4 separate regions of the Homo sapiens genome follow, and all the other regions are linked to region 3. Evidence: promoter capture Hi-C in human tissues and cell types (Jung and others, 2019). All regions are on one chromosome and are shown on one strand. The core of a region is centred on a gene start or on the middle of the fragment in contact, and the rest is flanking DNA. Distances in the headings are between cores, read along the strand shown. Region 1 overlaps SNAP91 (synaptosome associated protein 91). Region 2 overlaps SNAP91 (synaptosome associated protein 91). Region 3 holds the start of RIPPLY2 (ripply transcriptional repressor 2). Region 4 has its middle 20 kb from the start of LINC02857.

What was found. The method cuts DNA at HindIII sites, captures the fragments that hold promoters and counts their contacts. A contact is called where the count stands out against the background at its distance.
Region 1: a contact is called between a fragment that was not itself captured here and the fragment with the promoter of RIPPLY2 in region 3, in 1 of the 25 tissues and cell types used here (hippocampus).
Region 2: a contact is called between a fragment that was not itself captured here and the fragment with the promoter of RIPPLY2 in region 3, in 2 of the 25 tissues and cell types used here (H1 embryonic stem cells and mesendoderm cells).
Region 4: a contact is called between a fragment that was not itself captured here and the fragment with the promoter of RIPPLY2 in region 3, in 2 of the 25 tissues and cell types used here (liver and spleen).

What each region holds. Positions count from the first base shown.
Region 1 is chr6:83,598,833-83,602,212 of GRCh38, reverse strand. It overlaps SNAP91 (synaptosome associated protein 91), which reads left to right. Exons shown (of 30, transcript NM_001242792.2): 15 at 614-628; 16 at 775-942. Among named protein-coding and RNA genes, the nearest start is that of PRSS35, 88 kb to the right of the region's middle. The HindIII fragment of the contact is 6,416 bases long and covers 1-3,380 here.
Region 2 is chr6:83,634,250-83,637,656 of GRCh38, reverse strand. The region is part of intron 8 of SNAP91 (synaptosome associated protein 91); the gene reads left to right. Among named protein-coding and RNA genes, the nearest start is that of SNAP91, 73 kb to the left of the region's middle. The HindIII fragment of the contact is 4,674 bases long and covers 1-3,407 here.
Region 3 is chr6:83,851,057-83,854,835 of GRCh38, reverse strand. RIPPLY2 (ripply transcriptional repressor 2) reads right to left here and starts at 1,476. Exons shown (of 4, transcript NM_001009994.3): 1 at 1,325-1,476; 2 at 1,063-1,141; 3 at 675-739. The coding sequence starts at 1,419. RIPPLY2-CYB5R4 (RIPPLY2-CYB5R4 readthrough) reads right to left here and starts at 1,476. Exons shown (of 18, transcript NR_174604.1): 1 at 1,325-1,476; 2 at 1,063-1,141; 3 at 675-739. The HindIII fragment of the contact is 6,654 bases long and covers 1-3,779 here.
Region 4 is chr6:83,999,189-84,002,708 of GRCh38, reverse strand. No RefSeq gene overlaps it. Among named protein-coding and RNA genes, the nearest start is that of LINC02857, 20 kb to the left of the region's middle. The HindIII fragment of the contact is 7,057 bases long and covers 1-3,520 here.

The sequences.
Region 1 (3,380 bases), core at 175-2,674, 250 kb after region 3:
CTACAGGCTGGTGATGAACCCAATCGGCTGAAAGAATACAGAGGATTTTTTAAATCCTCATCTTTGGCTCCCTAATAGAGTGTTTTTTATTTTCTTCATAGTAAATTCATGTTGCAGAAGCACAAATAAGTGTGTGTTGTGTGTCTGTATATTTTAGACATGGGAAAACAGTTTCTTTTTATACATGCTTAAAGTGAAATTTCTACTTTTTTTGAGAAACATGGGATTACTGCCAGAATTTATTAGAATTAAAATTATCTACCAACATGTATTTGAAAGCTAATCAATATTATGTGATCATATGACTCTGATATCTTCATGTATAAGGTTAGCTACAGCACAAGTAGTTTTGTGACCCATTTGCTTGTTAATAAAATCTGAAGTACATGTCTAAAGGTGAAACTTGGTCTAGAGGATCTCTAGGTCCCTTCTAGCTTAAAAGTTCCATGATAATAGGTAGTACATTTATTTTTTAATTGCAAATGGTGTAGAAGACACATAAAGCTAAGGTTTTTTTAGTTAGTGCCTTATCTGGCTTGGACATTGGTATGGTTGCATGTTTCAACTTTAGCTCTTATTTATTCTTATGCTGCCATGTAATGGACATCGGTAGACCTTTTGGGAGAGGGTGAGTAAAGCTTTGTTTTTAAACTTCCATTTTGACAGACTTCTGTATGTAACAACTGTCCTTATTTTGATCATTTGGAGTCTGGTATATCTTTTGTCCTTTGCTTTTCTTCTCTCCGTTTGCTCTCTGTCTCTGGTGAAATATAGATTCTTTGGCTGCACTTTCCTCTGTTCCCTCTGAAGCACAGATTTCAGATCCATTTGCACCAGAACCTACCCCTCCTACTACAACTGCTGAAATTGCAACTGCCTCAGCTTCTGCCTCCACTACTACAACTGTTACTGCTGTCACTGCTGAAGTGGATCTCTTTGGAGGTTAGTTAGTCTCGCTGCTACTTTCATTTTTTCAGGATTGCTAAAATTACTTGGGAGTTAAGGTCTTTAAAATTTTTTCCGTTATGTAACAGCATGTCAGAGTGTTTAAGTACTTTTTCAATGTTTATTCATGTATATTTATCTTCACTAAATTCATCAACTTTCTCTTCACTTAATTTTAGTAATTTTATAGCAGAGATTGCAATGCATCAGGCCCATTTGATTTTCACGTTTTTTAACATTAGAATTCATGTTGCTACCTTCAGAACTCCTGCCTTTAGGTTCCTGCTCTCCAGTGTCTGTATAAAAGTGGTACCAGAGCTCTCTGTCACCTTTAGGTTTATTTAGCTTTTCGGCCAGATTAGAACTAGCCCAGAGAATATTTGGGGAATGTAGGAGGAGCAACACAGGCCTAAGTTGTTTCTTAATGTTTAGGGCAAAAAATAATCTAAGAGTAATTCAGGTTTGGAAGCCTTTGAAGAGAGTTAAGGGATGTGCCTGTTTTTACAGCTTTAAGTTTGTTCTGTCCAAATAAAAACTTGGATCATCTTTGGTTTTGGAACTCTGAGAAAACATCTGAAGCAGCACTTGAAAGGCTGATTGAAAACAGATTTAAGTCAGTCTTTGAAATGATTGTCTAAAAATATGCTTTCCATGGAAATGTAAATTCTGACCCACTATAATATGCCTGGACCTGATGAGCCATGTGAAGCCAGTTTATTCATATATGTATCCCCATCTGTGTGGTACCAATGTCCACACCTAAAGAAGTTCTCATATCAAACACATACGTCAAGTGATGTTATAGTCATTATAGTTTTGTGTATCTTCATTACCATATAACATCTTTCCTAGGGCATTTTGAGAATATGGTAAAGAAATTGGAGGAAGAAAATGGTGAAAGCAAGAGAGATTTGGCAGGCTTTGGTGTAATCAATATGTACCCCTGGGAACATACATTTAACACACTGTCACCTACCACTCTGCTACATGCCATGCTCCAGTCTCTAAGGTTGGCCAACATCATCCAAGACAAGGAGCACTCCACTAGACACAGCTTTGTTGCCACTGCTGCACAAAAGACATTTTCTGCTGCCTTGCTGTCCATTCCTATGGAACAGGAGAAACCTGTTTGTAAAAGAGTAGGAGAAAAAGGATTGCAGACCCTTGAATAAAGAGTCACCCATGGTCTGGCGCAGTGGCTCACATCTGTAATACTAGTACTTTGGGAGGCCAAGATGGAGAATTGCTTGAGCTCAGGAGTTTGAGACCAGCCTGGGCAATATAGTGAGACCTTGTCTCTGCAAAATAATTAAAAGCTAGCCAGTTGTGGTGGCAAGCACCTGTAGTCCAAGCTACTTGGGAGGCTGAGGCAGGAGGATTGCTTGAGCCCAGGAAGTGGAGGTTACAGTGAGCCTGATCACGCCACTGCACTTTAGCCTAGGTGAAGAGCAAGGCCCTGTCTCAAAAATAAAATTAAATTAAAAAGAGCCACCCACTATAGAGGGTTAGGTTTTCATTTATGCCCCTATATCCTTTGAAACCAAAAATTTAAATTTTAGCTTACATTTATAAAATCAACTTCCTCTTCCTTCCACAAATCTAAATCAGGTGGTAAATAGAGTTTGTCAAAGTTGTTTAGGCCTGACTAAAGGTAAGCCTCTTGACCTCCTTTGGCCTCAGTTCTCCCATCTATACAATTGGAAACTTGGTCTAGAAGATCTCTAAAGTCCTTCTAGCTTGAAAGTTCCATAATAATAATAGGTAATACACTTAGTAAATGTTTTAATTTAAAATCTATCCTTCCCCCACCCTCTGTTATTGATGTAGCTATGGGTAGTTTCTCATAGGCTTGTGTTAACAGAAAAAAAGTAAGGAAAATATGGACAGGATGCATAATAATTTTGTGCTGAAACATTTCTACGCCTTAGCTGTTTAGATTTTTTGTTTCCAGTCCACTTATAAGGAGTTGATTACCTCAAAGAAATCAATCAACTCTATCTTACTTCCTGCATAGCCCTCTAGAATAATAAAGACTAAGATATTTCTTTGAAATATTCTTCATGCCATTATGCTGTTTTTGTTTGTCATTTATTTCTGTTTTGACTATATTCATCAAGTGGAAAAATCTGTATGTTTAGAAAATTTTCATGATGGCATTCTTTGTAGCTTTAAATATAAGCTTAAAGGATGAGTACTGCAGAGAATCATGCAACTTAATGTCAAAGAATGAGACTGTTCTTGTGATTTTATCAATATCCTTTCCAGTCATCTGGCTGAGAAATGAGTGTACAATGACAATTACATCTGAAAATCACATCATAATTATTTTATTGATCTGTTTAGTTCTATAAATTGTCTCCTGGCTTCTGATAGCTATACAATTTCCATCCTTTATGTTCAGGAGTCTATATATGTCATTATCTGTTTTGTGATTT
Region 2 (3,407 bases), core at 51-2,550, 220 kb after region 3:
TTCCCAGGGAGCCCTGCAGCCCACATCATCTGGAACAGCTCAGTGATCTGAGAGCAGAAGGCTTGGAACAAGTCTAGCCAGTCAAAATGCTCCTGGGGCAGACACTGGAGGAAGACCTGTTGGGTCAGAGGAGCACAAGCTGAGTGGGCCCCACAGCTGTCTGCCAGGCTGGAAACCCTGGGCCACAGGCACTTTTCCACTTGCGTATACATGATACCATTGCCCTGCCCAGGGATTCTTCACCCCAACCCACTGCAACACCAGACCGCTAGTAGTCATATCCCACAACCTGCTCTGACTCTCACAAGCACAGTGGGCCCCCCAAGAGTTAGAGATCTCCTGATGATCTCTCAGCTGGGACCATCCCTAAAGGGAGAGGGTAGCACAGCCTGCCAAAGCCCCCTTTTGAGCAAAGAAAACATGGGTGCAGCACCAGTACTTGAAGGGGACAGCACCAAGGCCCAAGGCCTGGAAACAAACTTGGACTGAGACTTATCTCTTGGCCCCTGCCTCCCCTCCCCAGAGCACTGCCACATACGCACTGAAAAATAAGAGGTGTCTGGCTGAGTAAGAGTATATCTGCTGGCCCTGATGTCACTGTGAAGAGCTGTCTACGAGACTGCAACCTGAATGGCACCACCAAACAAAAATACATTGTTTCACCGTGCAACACCTCTGAAATGCACCACAGGAGCCCATCTATAACCTCAGAACCTAGAACAGAGCCTTGACCCTCTGAAAGCGCTCAGAAACGAAACCGATCAACTATATACAACATTCACCACAGTCAACCCTTACGGGAAAAAAGAATGTAAAAACAAAAAGCCCTATCCAAATGAAAGCAAATTGACAAAGAAAAAGAAAAGCCAGCTCCCTCAGACGAGAAGGAATCAGCTCAAGAACTTAGGCAATGCAAAAAGTCAGAATGTTTTGTTTACCTCTAAAGGATGGCATTAGCTCCCTAGCAATGAATCCTAACCACATTGAAATGTCTGAAATTATAGACACAGAATTCAGAATCTGGATGGCAAGGAAGCTCAATAAGATCCAAGAGAAATTTGAAATCCAATACAAGGAAGCCAGGAAAATGATCCAAGATATGAAAGATGAGATAGCTATATTTAAAAAGAACTAAACTGAACTTCTACAATTGAAAAGTTCACTACAGGAATTTGAAAATGTAGTTGGAAGCCTTAATGACAGACTAGATCACACAGAGGAGAGAATTTCAGAGCTTGAAGACGAGTCCTTTGAATCAACCCAGACAGACAAAAATAAAGAAAAAAGGAATTTTACAAAATGAACAAAACCTCCAAGAAATATGGTGTTAAGTAAAGCAACCAAACCTACAATTCATTGGCATTTCTGAGAGAGAAGAGAGAGTGAGCAACTTGGAGAACATATTTGAGGATATAATCCACAAAAATTTACCCAGTCTTGCTGGAGAGATTGACATGTGAATACAAGAAATTCAGAGAACCCCTACAAGATACTATACAAGATGACCATCCCAAGGCACAGAGTCATCAAGCTTTCCAAGATCAACACAAGAAAAAATCTTAATGGCAGCTAGAGAAAAGGAACAAATCACCTATAAAAGGAACCTCATCAGGCTAACGACAGACTTCTCAAAAGAAACTTTACAAGCTAGAGATTTGTAGCCTATTTTTAGTATTCTTAAAGAGAAGAATTTCCAACTAAGAATTTCATAACCTACCAAACTAAGCTTCATAAGTGAAAGTGAAATAAAATCTTTCCCAGACAAGCAATTGCTAAGGGAATGTGTTACCAATCAACTGGCCTTAAAAGACGTGCTTAAGGGAGTTCTAAACTTGGAAACAAAAGAAACCTGCTACCACAGAAACACATATAAGTACATAGTCCATAATTCCTACAAAGCAACTTCACAGCTGAGACTATAAAGCAACCAACTAACAATATGATGACAGGAATGAAACCTCACATATGAATACTAACCTTGATGTAAATGGTACAAACACCTGACTGAAAAGACACAGAGTGGCAAGTTGGATTAAAAAAAAAGATGTACTGTCTTCAGTACATCCATCTCATGTAATGACACGCATAGCCTCAAAGTAAAGGGATGAAAAAAGATCCACCATCCCAATAGAAAACAAAAAAGGACAGAGGTTGTTGCTCTTGTATCAGATAAAATAAACTGAAAACCAACAACAGTAAAAAAAGAAAAAGTACAAAGAAGGACATTACATAATGATAAATGGTTCAATTCAACAAGAAGACTTAATTTTCAGCCAGAGATGAGAGATTAGGGGGGAAAAAGACTTAACTATCCTAAATATATACACACCCAACATTGGAGCACCTAGATTTATAAGAGAAGTACTTCTTGACCTAATAAAAGACAGACAGCCACACAACAATAATGAGGGAGTTCATCACCCCACTGAAAGCATTAGACAGATCATTGAGGCAGAAAACTAACAAAGAAATTATGAACTTAAATTTGACACTAGACCAATTGGACCTAATAGACATCTACAGACTACTCCACCCAACAACCGCAGAATGTATGTTCTTGTCACCTCTACAGGGTACATACTCTAAGATCCACCACATGCTCAGCCATAAAGCAAATCTCAATAAATCAAAAAAATCAAATCATAACAAGTATATTCTTAGACCACAGTAGAATAAAAATAGAAATCAATACCAAGAGGAACTCTGAAAACCACACAATTACATGGAAACTGAACAACTTGTTCCTGAATGACTATTGGGTAAACAACAAAATTAAGGCAGAAATCAAAACATTCTTTGAAACAAATGAAAACAGACACAACATACCAAAATATCTGGGAGGCAGCAAAGGCAGTTTTAAGAGGAAAGTTTATAGCACTAAACACCTACATCAAGAAGTTAGAAAGATCTCAAATTAATAACCTAACATCACACATAAAGGAACTAGAAAAACAAGAACAAACTAATCCCAAAGCTAGCAGAAGAAAACAAATAGCCAAAGTCAGAGCAGAACTAAATGTAATCAACGAGAAGTGGGGATCGTGGTGACTGGGAGGCAGGACTAGATTGCAGCTCCAACTTGAACCAACAGAGCAGCATATGGAGGCTCGCATTGTGAATTTTTGCTCCAGAATGACTGCAGGAATAAATCAGGAAACCTGAGATGACCCACAGACTCCCTGAAGAAAGCAGATTGCTCCTACCAGACCCAGAAGACACCCCAAATACTATGAGTGCCCAAACTGTGGAGGCAGGAAAGGGAGATCCTCTGCCCCTGAACACACACCCCGCACTGGGGAAACCGTAGGCCTAGATAACAGGAGAAGATTTTGACCTTACCTGGAACTGAGTCAATTTAGAGAGCCAAGCAAAATACAGGGATAGAAGAAGCAGTGAAAAAAATCCCT
Region 3 (3,779 bases), core at 227-2,726:
GTGTTATTTATGACCAGGGGCACTTTACAAACATCATCCAGCTCTTCATTTAACAGCTCTCGGAGGCAGGAAAACTGCAGAATTCTTAACATTTCACCTGAATAAAAGTGACACAGAATCTTAGATAAAGGCTGACTTCCTGTGACTAGGAACAGTAAACTAGCTCCGCAAGTTAAATAAACTTTTGACCCTTTCTATAACCATTCTCAATAATCTTTAGGATTTTCATTACATTTCTATTTTTTCCTACTCGGCAAACTTGTAAGACTGTAACTGTTAATCCCATTCTTCCTTCCAGATTGCAAGACAAAAGCAGCATACACACTCTGCCTGATGCGAAGTCAATTTCATTCGAACCCTTTAGGATTTAAAAATAAAAACTGTTTTGCCAGCACAAGATGTCACCGCTCTCTTACCATATCATCCCCTTTCCCTCTTCGTAATATATTCATCAAGTTCACTGAGTATGTATTCATCAACAGTCCCTTTACGTGGGACCGTGAGCCCCTACCTTTTTCAATTTGATGAGTGAGAAGATAAGTAACCTTGAAGCCAGATTTTCAGAGAGAGAGAGAGAGACTGCAGGACCAGCTGCGGAGCTGGGCTGCGCGATGCCCCTGGCTCCTCCCTGGGGCTGGAGGAGCGGGAGACCTTCGGCGAGGCCTGTCACTCACCTGACTGGGTGCCTGAATTGGTAAAGCTTTCCTGAGGCTGCGGTCATTCCAGGGCCATCGGGCATCTGGAGAGGAAAGGAAGTGAATCCAGTTATCACCCACCTCCTTCTAGAAAGTGGAAACGTGCACGACCCAGTGTTCCTCGTGCCCGCTGGGAATGTAACCCCAGGGCTCTCAGCAGCCTCGCTCCCGGCTGGGTGCCTGTGGCCCATCGCTCCAGAGGACACATCCGCCGCGTCGGCACCTTTATGGCCACCGGCAGGCGGGATGTTAAGCGAGAGGCAGGACCCGGTGTCTCGCATGTCTCTCTCAGGCCCTGCGTCCCGAGAGCCCTGGTCGATCTTCTGCACCCGTGGGAGGCGCGGCCTGAGACGCGTGGCTCACTCACCGCCTCCGCGGCGTGGTTCGGCGTCTCCTCTTCTTTCTTGCCTCCGGCGTCCACCCAGGGTCTCCAGAAGCCTGCGTATCTGCGGGATAGGGGAGCACAAGGCGCGCAGAGGAGACGTGAGCCCAGACCCGGGAGAATCCACCGAAGCCGAGCGCTGGCACCGGGCAGTGGGGGATGGAGAGTTGGAGGGGAGGAGCTGGGGAGGCGCAGGAGGGAGAGACGGGGGAAGCTGGGAGGCGCAGAGCAGCGCGGGGAAGCCTACCCGGAGTCCGCGCCCGCGCGCCGCGTAGGGCCGTCGGTGGCCGCGCACGCCGCAGCTCCACTCTCTGTACCCTCTGCGCCTCCCGCGTTCTCCATGACGCCGCAGAGCTGGGCGGAAGGCCGCTGCCAGCTCGCGGGCAATCTTGACCAGTTCCAGTAGGTCCGAGACCCGAGCTTTATATAGCCCTCGCGGCCTGCTGCACATTGAGAGGTTCGCTGCCTCTCCGCCCCTCTCCCTGCTAGCCGCATAAACAAAAAGGCTGCGCGTGAAGGCGCACCGGGCTGAGCCCCGGGTGTGAACGCGTGCAACTCCCAAATGGCCCGGGACAGGGTTTTGTCGAGCGAATGTTAATCGCCCTTCGACACATGGCTGCGGAGAAAAACAACATTCGCCCGAGCAGCCAATTTCCGTGTGAAGAGGCCAGGAGGAGATGGAATTAAGCGAGTCTACACGTTTTGTGGATTTCTGCAAAAAGGCCAAGTGACTGGTTAATTGCTTGATTCGCTGGAGACTCAGGACTTGGCCTGTGGCAAATCAACTGGTTCTGCATCCCGTGTTCTAAAAGCTGGGATGCAGACTAGAATTCAAAGGAATAAACTTAATTCCTCTTCATGGAACAATTTTCTAAAAAATGGGGAGAATGCATGGACTCCTTAAGAGAGGAATGTCGGTTTTTTAAAAAAGTATTGATAAACTAGGTTCATACTCCAGCCTATTATTATTTGAAGATAATAGAAAATTATTGGCAACAAGAGGTAAATTGTAAAAGATTCGCTGTTCTGGCTAAGAGAGCCAGAGACTGGAGTCATGTGATTTGGGCATAGAGCTCTAAATTATCTTCTCGTGTCTTTTGTGATTTTCCCCAACATTTTATCAGTGTCCTCCTACAATAACTTTTGAGTTCGTCTATACACCTCTGTCACTACTTGGTATTTTGTCACTCAATGGTAATTACAAAATTCTTTTTTGAGGGCAGTGTTGTGGAATGATAATGAAATCTTGAAAAGTTATGATATGAGACAAGTTAATCAAACGTCTGCACCCCTGTTTCTCTGATTTGAGTTACCCCTCACTTATCTACCACTAAACTTTGTAAAAAGTGTTATGCATCGAGGAAAAGATGATATATAAATGTTATAATTTTTTTCAAAATGTTTTAAATAATAAAACTGGACTTTCTCTTAAAAGTTTAGACAAAAATCTTGATTGTAAACTATAGTTGTCTCTGCTATTCATTCAGCTACTGCATAGGAAAATAATTTAATTATTAATAGTAGCTAAGAGCCTATAATGATCTACCTGCCAGGAAGGTGAGATTTGGGTTGCTTCTGATAAGAAAATCAGTAAGGATAGATACCTAATGCATGTCTGCATCCCCTACAGTTATTGTTAGGCTAAATAAAATAAAGCTTATAAAATGCGTTTTGCAGTGCCTGGCATATAGTAAGCCTTCAACAGATTTTAAGCTACGTAAAAAAATATAAGGCCTTAACAGATGTTAACCTTTCTGATAAAATGGCTTATTATTTCAGTTCCATAATGTAAACTAGTTAAATCATTGTGGAAGATGGTGTGGTGATTCCTCAAAGACCTAGAACCAGAAGTACCATTTGACCTAGCAATCCCATTACTAGGGATATATGCAAAGGAATATCAATCGTTATTTTACAAAGATGGCATGCATAATGTTTGTATGCGTATGTTCATTGCAGCACTATTTGCGATAGCAAAGATATGGATTCAACTCAAATGCCCATCAGTAATAGACTGGATAAAGAAAATGTGGTACATACACAACACGAAATACTATGCAGCCATAAAAAGGAACAAGATCATGTCCTTTCCAAGGACGTGGATGGAGCTGGAAGCCGTTATCCTCAGCAAACTAACGCAGGAACATAAAACCAAACACTGCATGTTCTCACTTATAAGTGGGAGCTGAATAATGAGAACATCTGGACACAGGGAGGGGAAAAACACACACTGGGCATGTCAGTGGGTGGGGTGGGAGGAGAGAGAGGATTAGGAAAAATAGCTAATGCATGCTAGGCTTAATACCTAGGTGATAGGTTGATAGGTGCAGCAAACCACCATGGCACATGTTTACCTATGTAACAAACCTGCACATCCTGCACATGTACCACAGAACTTAAAATGAAAATAAAAAATAAAAAAAAATCTTTTTGAGGTGGCTGTAATGTGCTAACTACTGTGCTTTCCAGATAAGGACAGTAAGGTATTCCTCCTATCCTTGAGAAGGTTACAATTATTCCAAACTCTGACCACTACAATAAACACATAAGCAAAAAAAAAAAAAAAAAAAAAAATTTAAAGTGACACATTCAATAGTAAAAGCGCATTTTAGGCAGATAGGTGGGAGGAACTTAAGAAGTCTGTTTGGGATAACCAGGAAAGCCTTCTTAGAGTAAATCAAATCTAAGTTGATATTTTTGGA
Region 4 (3,520 bases), core at 616-3,115, 150 kb before region 3:
TGCCCTCCCTCACAACTTTTCAAATTCAGAAACTGCTTGACCTATCTTTGTGACCAGCCTCTCTGTTGGCATCATACTCTCTCATTTTCCCTCACTGTCTTATTTTAATGTGGAGATCCAAAAATATTTTTCTTTTCTCAATGTTTAAAAAGAGAGCATTCCTTGTAGGACAAAACCTGCCCATATTGAGGAAATGAATGGTGAAATAAGCTGCTGTGGGGCAAAAGCTCGGTCTGAAGGGCCTGAAATTAGGTGGAACTGATGCTACAGTAGGGGAGGGGAAGAATTTGTCTGTTACAACAGCAAATGGGGAAGGAAGAGGGAGACAGAAAGATGGGAACTCCAAACCTTTAGTGAAGTGAGCAGAGTCACAAAATGTCTAGTTAAAGTGGGTTTTATTTTTTTTCTTTAGTGTATTTCGTAGGTTTTGAGTGTGTGAATGTGTGGCAACTAGTAAAAGTACTGTGCTTATCACCTGGATTGATATGGGCAAGACTTGGGTAGCCAGTTTTCACTGTTAGGCAGACAAAGGAGTTAAGAAAAACACATGAAGAAGTCAGATATTCTCAAAATCTTAGAAGGGCTCTGGATTCTCATTTGCCACATGTTCAAGTATTTGATGTATGTTTACATAAATCCCCGAGGAATAGAAGACCCCTGCTGATGCCTAGCTTCCCTTTTACTGAATTTATGTAATTTTATAGGCTGCTTTTAATCCTTTCTGGAGTGAGATCATAAAAGTAAATAAATAAAGAATTTTAAAATAATGTGGAAAAGGGCGCTGCTTATAAGTTGTGATTATAACCTTATCAAAACTATTCATTGGGAAAAAATAACAGGAAATATGTCAAAATGATCAACTATGTTTGGTAGTGGGATTATGAGTAATTTTTTTTTCAAACATTCTGTAATATGATTAAATTACTTTAGTTTTAAATTTTAAAAAGGTAACTATGAAGGCTATTTATCAACATGAGGAGTTGATCATGATAGAACGTTAAGATTAAAAATTATAACAAAAGTAGTACTTCAGTATGTCTGCAATAATGTAAAATAAAAATGCATGTAGACAGGAGGTGGAAGGGATCTTAAAAGTTGTCACAGTTTGATTTTTTTCTAGGAGGCAGATTCTAAGACAGAGTTGGATTCAGGATGTTTATCAGGAAATACCCTTAGGATCAAGACCTGTAGAAAGAAGAAAGAGGAATCAGGAATGGGCAGAGGGGGGAGTCTAGATGAACTGGCCCATTTAGAGTTGTCCCACATTGGGCCAGAATACCTGGTCTGTATACCCCCAATCAGTGATTGGATGTTGGCCACCGAGGGAGAAGGCGAGCCTGGGAGAGTCAGTTCTCTCCCCCGAGGGGCTGCCAGCTGAAAGGTGTCTCATAACAACACTCTTAGGAGCTAAGGCAACAGGTCCTTCCCTGAAGGTAGATCTGAGTCACACATGTCCATATTCAGGACAAAATTAAAACATTTTGTATAGAATGGTAGGCTAAAATGTCAATTTTTTTTTGTAAAAATCATTTTTAATATTGCTACATCATCTTTTAATAGCTATAAAATGAGGATTTTCAGCTGAGGCAGGTGAATTGCTTGGATCCGGGAGGTGGAGGTTGCAGTGAACTGAGATCATGCTTCTGCACTCCAGCCTGGCAAGAGAGCAAGACTCCGTCTCAAAAAAAAAAAAGAAGATTTTCATAGTATTACTCTCATAGCACTGTTGTGAAGATTAAAAAGATAATAATTGTAAAGCACAATGCTTGACACAAAGTGTACAATATTATTACTGTTCATTGTTTTAACATTTGCCAAGTTATACTACCCTGAGGAGTTAGTGCTCTTCTTATAACTAGTCAGTGCCAAATCACTTTTTTTTTTTTGCACCTGCCCCTTATATTTCTGCTTCCTGGCATTGAAAATGATGTAAGGATGTGATGCGGGAATTGTGCTATCTTGTGAACATACAATGACAACCAAGGGGACAATAGGCCAACACTGAGAATGGTGAAGCAAAGGAATAAAGATCTATGATTGGCATCTTGGAGGTACCAAACAACCATGATGCCATCTATACCACTCTAGACTGCTCATTAAATAAATAATAAATATCCTTATGACTTAAGCTACTTTTAGTTGGGCTTTGTTACTTAAAGCTAAAAACATTCCTAACTAATATGTAGGGAAACAGAAATAGACGAAAGATTGGGAGGAAAAAATGCATAAAATTTATAAGCTGGCATGAGCTCTGTAAATTAGTAGAATTGTGTGATATGGGAACATAATAAATGTCACTTAATGATAAGGTTACTTCTGACTGTGTCTGTTTCAAGTTTATCCATGATTTAATTTTCTGAATACCTCCCTTCCCATGATACAAAACAAATTAATCCCCACTTTGCCTCTAAGCCATATAGAGAGGGTGTGTGGGAAAGAGAAAGGATGCTAATGAGATTTTCTGTTTATTGGTATACACCAGTGTGGCCATTAACAACAACAACAACAACAGCAACAAACCCTTCATTTAGTAAAATGCAGCTGCTAGAACTTTTGTAAAAAGACCTGCATCCTGAAAATTCCCAGTTGTACCTACAGTAAGTAGTTCCTAAATGTGAGCCATTTATCCTCTTTATTATTCAGCAGCTATGGTGCCTGTGGAGTTGGAAAGACACTTTAATTTCCATTTCTTAGGAAAGCTGTATGGACATAACACACCTGATGACTGGTATAGCTCACAGGGGGAAGACATTTAGGAACCACGGGCAAAAGCCACTTTCCAGAATATTCCCAATAAATGTGAAGTGGAGAAAAGAGTAGACTTTAGTGCGTCCCAGATTTTTATTCTTCACCCTCACCGTCTAAGTGATGCTGCTTATCCAAGGTAAATTTCAAATTTTTATATTATCCACCTCATATATTTAAAAAGCTACAGAAATAATTTCCTGAATTATTTTTGAAGAGTTTCAAGAACTGTCAAGTTTTGAACTGGAACACTATGAAAAATGAGACTGAGTGTCTGAGTTGGCTTTTAAGAATAAGGTGAATCTGTTCCAAAAGAGATGGATAAAATGATCTACACCCAGGTCTATTGATCACGGGCACTAATACACATAGGGAAGATGGCAATTATTTAGCAAGATATTTCCCCAGATTGGTGGCACATTTTTTATTTACTTATACCCTAAATCCTGTTCTGTTATGGCTCTTAACTTTAAATGGATGACTGCAAGTGTGTCCCAGTGAGATGATTTCTCAGTTCATGGTTGAATTCCACAGGACTAACAGAAAAGCTCCCTGCCATTCTCTGCTGGAGTTGTGCTTCTCTTCCAGATCGCAACACTTTCCAGTTCTGACACACTGGTATATCCTTCCAGACCTGTCTCTTGGATGCTCACAAGCTTGAGCATTTATCTTTGACCCATCAAAAGTCATGCAAAAGCCCATGCATATAATGCCTGTGTAGCCTGACTCTACTCTCAGGATCTGTTTGCTGCTTTATCTCAGCACATTAGGTGAA